Linked DNA regions of Homo sapiens: all the other regions are linked to region 1. The links are contacts of gene promoters, found by promoter capture Hi-C in blood cells and fetal thymus (Javierre and others, 2016). All regions are on one chromosome and are shown on one strand. Each heading gives the region's core, a stretch centred on a gene start or on the middle of the fragment in contact. The rest is flanking DNA. Distances are from core to core; before and after follow the strand shown. Region 1 holds the start of GAD1 (glutamate decarboxylase 1). Region 2 overlaps MYO3B (myosin IIIB). Region 3 overlaps MYO3B (myosin IIIB).

Region 1 (2,700 bases), core at 57-2,556:
AGGCCCCAGACGTGCGCATAAATAACCCCTGCGTGCTGCACCACCTGGGGAGAGGGGGAGGACCACGGTAAATACCAGTAAAGGAATCACTGCCTACACGGTGTCACCCAGACACGCACAGACATCAACATTTTTGCCCTAAAGAAAAAAACTGGGGGAGAAGAAAGGGGAGAACTTAAACTAGTGACAGGGCGGTGAGGGAAGGCATGAAGAGGCAAGCCGGCGCGTAACCGTCTGGCCAGCAGCTCCAGGTGTGGGCTCCGCTCGGGCGCTGGCGGAGAGACCCGGGAGCGCAGGGCCTCTCCGTCTCTGGGCTCTTGGCGCCCTCTGGTGGGAATTTCTCTTTCAACGCATTTTTACGGCGAGGGGCTTCTCCCAACGCAGCGGTTCTTTTAACTACGCCTAAATATTGCAAAGGGAGAATCCTTAAAGCGCGTGAAATCGAAGGGGGAGCGGGCCAGGGCAAGGGGGGCTGGTCCGCCCCTTCCGGGCACCTCTGTGCTCGGGTGCCCCATGCGCGTGCAGCGGCGCTCGTGCGTGTCATCAACCTTCAAACGTGATTAATCAGGAGGCCTTCTTTTCCCATCACCAAGGGGGCCAAAGCGAGGAGCGAGCGCATAGCAAAAGGGACGCGGGGTCCTTTTCTCTGCCGGTGGCACTGGGTAGCTGTGGCCAGGTGTGGTACTTTGATGGGGCCCAGGGCTGGATGAGGAAACTGTAATTCCTCCATGGTCTAAGAGGTCTCCCCTCATTTCTGCCTCCTTTGCGGTTACAACAATCCCAGCTCCGTAGAGAGCCAACGAGGACACGACCCAAAGCGCGCTTTCGCTCAAGGAAGCGTCGCAGGGTCACAGATCTGGGGGAACCCCGGGGAAAAGCACTGAGGCAAAACCGCCGCTCGTCTCCTACAATATATGGGAGGGGGAGGGGAAATGGGAGAGGGGAAAGGAGGGGAGGGAAGAAGAAACGCTCAGAAAGGCAGAATTCTTCGTAGGAATTATCTTTTCCCTCCTCTCACCCGACAGCCTGCCTATTTCCAAAGGAAAAAAAAAAAGCGTGTTGAGTACGTTCTGGATTACTCATAAGACCTTTTTTTTTTCCTTCCGGGCGCAAAACCGTGAGCTGGATTTATAATCGCCCTATAAAGCTCCAGAGGCGGTCAGGCACCTGCAGAGGAGCCCCGCCGCTCCGCCGACTAGCTGCCCCCGCGAGCAACGGCCTCGTGATTTCCCCGCCGATCCGGTCCCCGCCTCCCCACTCTGCCCCCGCCTACCCCGGAGCCGTGCAGCCGCCTCTCCGAATCTCTCTCTTCTCCTGGCGCTCGCGTGCGAGAGGGAACTAGCGAGAACGAGGAAGCAGCTGGAGGTGACGCCGGGCAGATTACGCCTGTCAGGGCCGAGCCGAGCGGATCGCTGGGCGCTGTGCAGAGGAAAGGCGGGAGTGCCCGGCTCGCTGTCGCAGAGCCGAGGTGGGTAAGCTAGCGACCACCTGGACTTCCCAGCGCCCAACCGTGGCTTTTCAGCCAGGTCCTCTCCTCCCGCGGCTTCTCAACCAACCCCATCCCAGCGCCGGCCACCCAACCTCCCGAAATGAGTGCTTCCTGCCCGCCCTAGTCCCTGCTCTCCACGGGTGCGCTGCGCAGGGACCCCCCCCCCCCCGCCTCCCTCGTCACTCTTCTTATCCCTGCCCTCCGGATTCACGCCCCGGGGAAGCACGGAGGCTGAGGCTCTAGTTGAAGTGGGGCAAGAGCGATTTTCCCTTGAGCTTCCATGCTGCGAGCGCCTGTCCCTCCAAAGGGCGCCTGGGCAGCAGCAGCCGAAGGCGCTACTAGGAACGGTAACCTGTTACTTTTCCAGGGGCCGTAGTCGACCCGCTGCCCGAGTTGCTGTGCGACTGCGCGCGCGGGGCTAGGAGTGAGGTCGGAGGGAGGGTGTGGAGGCGATGGCCGGTGGGCCCTTCTCTGTGGGGTCCTCGATCTACCCAGATTAGCCCGCAATCTCTCTGTCCCGGGGCCTTCGGGCGCCATCGCGCCAGCGCCGAGAGTCGAGCAGGGGCGCCGCGCAAGATCTTTGTCCGCCGCCTCCTGCGCGCTGCGCGCAAGTTCGTTTCCCCGGTGACGTTCCCCATGCTTACTTACCCCACCCTCTCTGGATCTGTACCGCGAGAAATCTGGGGTCCTCAGGGGGCTAGGTAGAGGAGAAACGCTGAAACCGGACCGAAACCTCGCCCTAGGCTTAGCGATGGCTAAAAACCGGCTGGGATAAGAGGGAGGCAAGCAACATTCCGACTCGCTGCTTTCTGGCTGTCTGGAGTGCAAGGTGACTGTGGTTCTTCTCTGGCCAAGTCCGAGGGAGAACGTAAAGATATGGGCCTTTTTCCCCCTCTCACCTTGTCTCACCAAAGTCCCTAGTCCCCGGAGCAGTTAGCCTCTTTCTTTCCAGGGAATTAGCCAGACACAACAACGGGAACCAGACACCGAACCAGACATGCCCGCCCCGTGCGCCCTCCCCCCGCTGGCCCACACGCCGGCTGCTGAGTGCCCAATGGGGCTTGTAGCGGCTCGGCTGGAAAATCGCTCACTGAGCGCTCCCCTGTGCTCCTAGCCTAGTCCCCCACACCCTTGCGTCTTGTACTGGCCTTGGACCCCCACCCCGACCCCGACCCCGCCTCGTCTCGGCGCTTCACTCCAGGTCGCGCCGA
Region 2 (2,700 bases), core at 96-2,595, 270 kb before region 1:
GGATTGCAGAGCATTATCCAGTCTCATGTCCCTAAGGCAAAAACAAAAAACAACAAAAAAAACAAAAAAACAGCAACAACAACAACAACAACTCTATAAAGGAGTTGAGGAAGTTAGATTTTTTAAGAAAACTGACTTGTACCATCTTCTTAAAAGCAAGGTGTGTTCTAAGAATCAGTAGTGCCTCAACATGGTACAGAGGAGAAGGGTCCATTGTTAAAATAATGTCTAGAAGATGTTTCCAATTCTTTTCCTTTCTTGGAGTCTCATTGAACATATTATTAAATTAAAGTTGCCGGAAAGCCTCTCGGGAAAGAAACCTGGCTTGTAGGCTAATCTAGTATTTTCTAATTTATTTGCCTGTAGACACTACTCCCTGACCTCTGCCGCTGACTTTTCTTAAACACACACAAACATTACATTGAGCTGCCTTCGATTCTTCCAAAGGCTTGAATGAAGAGGGAATCAAACAGATAAGCTGACTCCCTGTGGAGAGTTGGGAGGTGTCTGCCATTGGCTTTGGATTCTGAAAAGCCACACAAGCTAGAGGAGTTGTCAAGAGGTTCATTTTTTGAGGGGTCAGGAAAGGCATAAATTAGGGGTCTGGCAGTAATTCAACAGCTAAACTCTCTTTCTTAGACTTTCTCCTAGAGGATCTTAGAATCCACCCATCCTATAGGTGTGTCACAGCTACTGGGACTTGCCTAGGCCAGACAGGAGTGAGTCCTTTGGGCCAATGCTTAGATACTGAAGGGTATAGAATATATTATGGTTCAGAGGAAGAGCAGAGGATTTGGAGTCAGACAAACACGGGTGAATGCCTTAGCTCTACCAGGTATTTACCATGATACCTGGGAAAATCTCTTAACCTCTCTGAACCTCTTTGTTTATCTGTATGATAGATACAATTAAAGTACTTAGACCAAATGGTTGTGAAGCTTTCTTAAATATTTAAAAGCATTTTTTTTAAATGAAGTAGTATATAAATGATAGTTAATTTAATTTTAATAGTAAGAGTATTCTTACTGATCTACATGGCCCCGCATTTTGTGGATTGACTAATCATTGTTTTATTTATTCAAATGGTCAATATTTACTGAGCATTTTCTATGTACCAGGCACTGGGTAGGTGCTTACACAGAGCGTGAAATAGAGCAGATCCAGTCCCTGACTTAATGTAGCTTACATTCCATTGTGGGAGACATATGATAAGCAAATATACACACAAATAAATATAGAATTATAGTCCCCTCCTTCCAGGTACTGATGTGGTAATTTTTAAATGGGCATATTGCTTATAATATATATTTTGAAGGTAATATCCACAAATAAATATACGGAAATGAATTTGTCAGCTTAAGTAAAGAATAAGATTATTAATATAGAACTGGAAGAGACCTTAGGAATAATTTATCTCAATCTCCTCATTTTATAGATGAGGAAAACTAGGACCCCGAATACTACAGAAACTTACCCAAAGTCACATGTTTGTTGTGTCATGTGTGTCACATGTGTGCGTGTGTGTGAGGCAGGGGTCAGAACACAGATTTCCCTTCTTTACTCAGTGCTTTCCACTCTGCTGGTTCCATCTGAAAGGCATTATGAGTGGCTCCTATTTTATCTGTGTGTTATAAGTACACTCTTATACAATGTGTTCTGATTATCAAAAATTGGGGACCCAGACCAATTGATTTTTCCAAACTTTGTTCCATGAAGCATTAGGATTTTATTAGATGTTAATAGGTTATCACTTTAAGCTTCTTGGTCAAATTACTGTTGGAACTTTATCTTTACTATAGAGATCCATAAATGTATATTGTAATTTTAAAAGATTATTCCTGCAGTAAGGAAACCTTTCAAACTACGCCCAACCTAACATTCCCCAAACTTACTTGATTACGGAATCCATTTTAAGTTCTGTAACTGTGAATGTGATTCATGTGCTGTGCAGGAAGTGTAGCCTTAGCATCCATTTAGTTGGCTTCTTGGTAAAGGTTGTGGAAGCCCAATAGAGCTCGCTAAACCAAAGCCAATCACACAACTTTAAAAGGAGCAGTTTCTTGGGTCTTAGGAATTCAGGCAGACTGTGGATGTGCTGTAACATGTAGGAGCAACACCTAGTAGGACTCATTTTCTTAAGGTGACCATGTCCTTTTAACCAAGGACTGAAATGGGAAACCATGGAAGCATAAAAAGTATGTTTTGATATATCTTTGAAGAAAAACAGTCCTCTCTAAGTTTTTCTATTATTATTTTCAAGTCTTTTAAAATTATTATTATTGTTATCTTTTCAGGCATTCACAAGCCCAGAGTTCTCCAAAAGGGTGCGATATCTTCGCAGGACATGCAAACAAGGTAGCTGGATATCTTGATTCCAAAGTAAATGTGTATCACTCCTTCAGACTCATCCAAGTTCATAGGCATGAAGCTTGTCTGCGGCTGCGTGGTTGGACCATCCAAACTTGAAACTGTTAGTGATATTTTGAAGTCTTTGAGACAAAAGCCCAGCTTGCTGAAGAACTTTGGTTCAGTAGAGAGACAGGGAGGTACAGGGGAGAGAGAATCAAAAGCCTGGAAATTTGCTGCTGAGAATAAATGTTAGCTGCTCCCTGAGGTGATTTGTCTGTGCACTCCACTCTCTACAGATGTTAGAGCCTCTTTTTGAGTAAGGACCCGAGGTTCTTTGGTAGCACTTTGATA
Region 3 (2,700 bases), core at 88-2,587, 290 kb before region 1:
TGTTCTTCACGGAAGCCTTTATAATGTGCCTTCTCTCAGATAAGGTTTCCAGAACCCATCATGTATGTCACCAGGAGGAGGACACAGCTACAGGAAGGAGTGGACCATGGCAAAGGGAAGGCCTAATAGAATGAAACTCACCTTTCTTATTTTCTTCCACATTGATTATGGGGAACTTCCTTAAAAGTTTTAGTCAAAGATTTCAAGAAAGAAGCAGGTCATTAGAGAGTTCTTTGCATCTTTTCACCTGGAAAAGAGAAAGTCTTAATTTACAATTTTAAACAAAATTTTAATTATTTTTTATTATTTTATTTTGTGAGATCGCTTAAGATTTTTGAGACTTGATAAATTAAATTCTTAATACTCCCCCAGTGGTCTCAAATTGTCATTGGGCTTCTTTTAAAGTAAAGTACTTTAGACTACTTGCTTAAAAAGTCAGAATAGCTCATTTAAGGGCACTTTAGGAAAAGACCTAATATCTCATATTAGAATAACAAAGTTTACAATTTCTAATGTGGTAGAAAGATCACTGAGCTTGGTTGGAAGACTTGGTTTCTGATCCCAGCTAACATTTTCCAACTGTTTGACCTTGGGCAAGTCAGTGAACCAGTTTGGAAAACAACTTCAGCCCCAGTCTGACTTCCTCAATCTCAACTGAGGTCTGACTTTACTGAGAACACCAGGACAGTGCTCTGAGCTCTTCCACCGCCCTTCTCTTCACCTTAGAATCTCTCCTTATCTTCGGCTGTCCTTCCTTCCTTTGCTCCCATCTCACAGACCCCAGATCCTCTGCCTTGTGCAGTGTTCCTGCCATCCAGGCCCTACCACTATCAGGTAGCACCTCCCCTGCTTTCCCATCTTTTACACTCTGCTATCACTTTCCATTTTGCTTATACCTCCCCCCATACTAAAAAAAAGCCTGCCCTTGGCCTGTCCTTCCTTCTTTTTGCTTTTACCACCAGACTTCCTCCAACTGCTGTCCAGGTCCACTGCCTCATTTCCTCACTAAACCAACCCCTTTCTCCCTAATCCTGAAATCTGATTTGTGTCCCTACAATGTCCCTAAAACTATTCTTGGGAAGCACAGCTCCCAGTTGCTAGAGCTTTATGTTCATCAGACTCTGCAGCATTTAGTTCCATGGGCCATGCGTGCTTTCCTTGAAGAGCCCTCTTCCAAGGGTATCTGTAGTATTGCCTTCTTCAGGTGCTTGCTCAGAGGTATTCTCAGTCTTTGTTTTCTCTGGTTCCATTCTTCTTCTCTTCCGCTTACCATTAAAATAAAGGCAATTCTCCAAGTCTTAGATTCTCTCCTTTCTCTCCTTCTCACCCTGGATGATACCATCTCTCACCAGTGTGTTCTGGTATCAAGTCTCTGCTAGGTGAGCACGAGTCGCAAGTCTCTGTTCTGAGCTCCACACTCCTACACCCAACTCACAGTGGACATATATTCCTGATTCACACACCAAGACTTCAACAGAAAAGCCCCTCCTAAAGCACCTCCTCCACTCACCCTTCCCACTTCTATGATTGACATAAACACTGTCTTGTGACCTGGCCTTCAAACCTGGCACAGTCACTCTTGACCCCTACCTCTCACTTAATCTCACTTCCAGTCATTTTCCAAATACTCTTTCCTGGTCCAGGACTGCCATTATCTCTTTTTCTTTCTCCTTCTGTCTTTACAGTCCAGCTTTCATTTCTCACACCTGATCAATTGTCTTACAACATATTCTGACTTGTTCAAAGAACTTTAATGGCTTCCTATTTTAGACCAAAAAAGGTTCCGACTTCTCAGGCTGCTGTTCCACGCCTCTCTCTAGCTCACTTCAGTTTGTCCTCCAGGCTCACCTCCACCTTGTCCCTAATACACCTTATGGCTAACCAGAATCAGACTTCTTATTGTTCTACCGGTGCACCTTCCTCTCTTCTCTCTGCCCATTCCTTTCTGTTCAGCTCTTACCTTTTGGTCAAGACACATTATCATATCCCTTTCCTCCATGAAGACCTAATTCTTTTTAATACTCCTTGAGCTGTAGCCCTTTTGTAACAGTACTACTCAAAGTGCTTTTTCACAACAGGATAATGAATTTGTGCCCAAATGTAAATCAACTCACTGCTTTCTTCATTAAGAAACTCTTGTTACTAAAAAAAATCAGCTGAACTAAACAATGTACTTGGTGATGAATTGATTTACATTCTGGCACTAGCCCCTTATGTCATTGTGAGTAGTAACAGTTCACAGACTGGGTCCTCACACCACACTTTGGTGTTTCAATCTCTCTGGTGCTCTTCATATTTTGCCTGGTGTTATGGTTGACCTTGTGCTAGCAAGTTAGCTTCTCAACAGTGAGGACTGAGTCTTACTCTTTCTTGTATCCGATATACACAATAGCTACTCAATAAGTTTATTGAGCTAACTTTCAAAGCCACTTCTCAGCACTCAGATTTTTATGAGGGAAGTGTTTTTCTTGTCAGTCTTTGGGTAGTGGCAACAATAAGAGGATCCCGAATAACTTACCAAACAGTGGGCCAGGGTATCCCTGATCCAGGGACTGGGATTCTGTTGTCCCCCTTATGTTTGTCAACTCAGTGTTCTGTGAATCAACAAGGGCTGATAGGAAGGAGTTTTTGGGCAGAGGGTGGGGTGGGAGTAGGGAGGGGTTTGGGGTGGGCAGAGTAAGAAGAGAGCTGGATTGTGTC

What was found. The method cuts DNA at HindIII sites, captures the fragments that hold promoters and counts their contacts. A CHiCAGO score of 5 or more calls a contact.
Region 2: a contact is called between a fragment that was not itself captured here and the fragment with the promoter of GAD1 in region 1, in 1 of 17 cell types (total CD8 T cells). The highest score is 5.4, in total CD8 T cells.
Region 3: a contact is called between a fragment that was not itself captured here and the fragment with the promoter of GAD1 in region 1, in 4 of 17 cell types (naive CD4 T cells, total CD4 T cells, non-activated CD4 T cells and 1 more). The highest score is 6.7, in naive CD4 T cells.

What each region holds. Positions count from the first base shown.
Region 1 is chr2:170,815,581-170,818,280 of GRCh38, forward strand. It overlaps GAD1 (glutamate decarboxylase 1), which reads left to right and starts at 1,307. Exons shown (of 17, transcript NM_000817.3): 1 at 1,307-1,468. GAD1-AS1 (GAD1 antisense RNA 1) reads right to left here. Exons shown (of 4, transcript NR_197761.1): 2 at 2,138-2,335; 3 at 1,274-1,452; 4 at 1-905. RefSeq lists a silencer at 1,122-1,201 and enhancers at 1,289-1,458, 2,698-2,700. The HindIII fragment of the contact is 11,655 bases long and covers 1-2,700 here.
Region 2 is chr2:170,540,612-170,543,311 of GRCh38, forward strand. It overlaps MYO3B (myosin IIIB), which reads left to right. Exons shown (of 35, transcript NM_138995.5): 31 at 2,295-2,355. Among named protein-coding and RNA genes, the nearest start is that of LINC01124, 170 kb to the right of the region's middle. The HindIII fragment of the contact is 819 bases long and covers 937-1,755 here.
Region 3 is chr2:170,520,816-170,523,515 of GRCh38, forward strand. All of the region lies in intron 30 of MYO3B (myosin IIIB), which reads left to right. Among named protein-coding and RNA genes, the nearest start is that of MYO3B-AS1, 170 kb to the left of the region's middle. The HindIII fragment of the contact is 9,195 bases long and covers 1-2,700 here.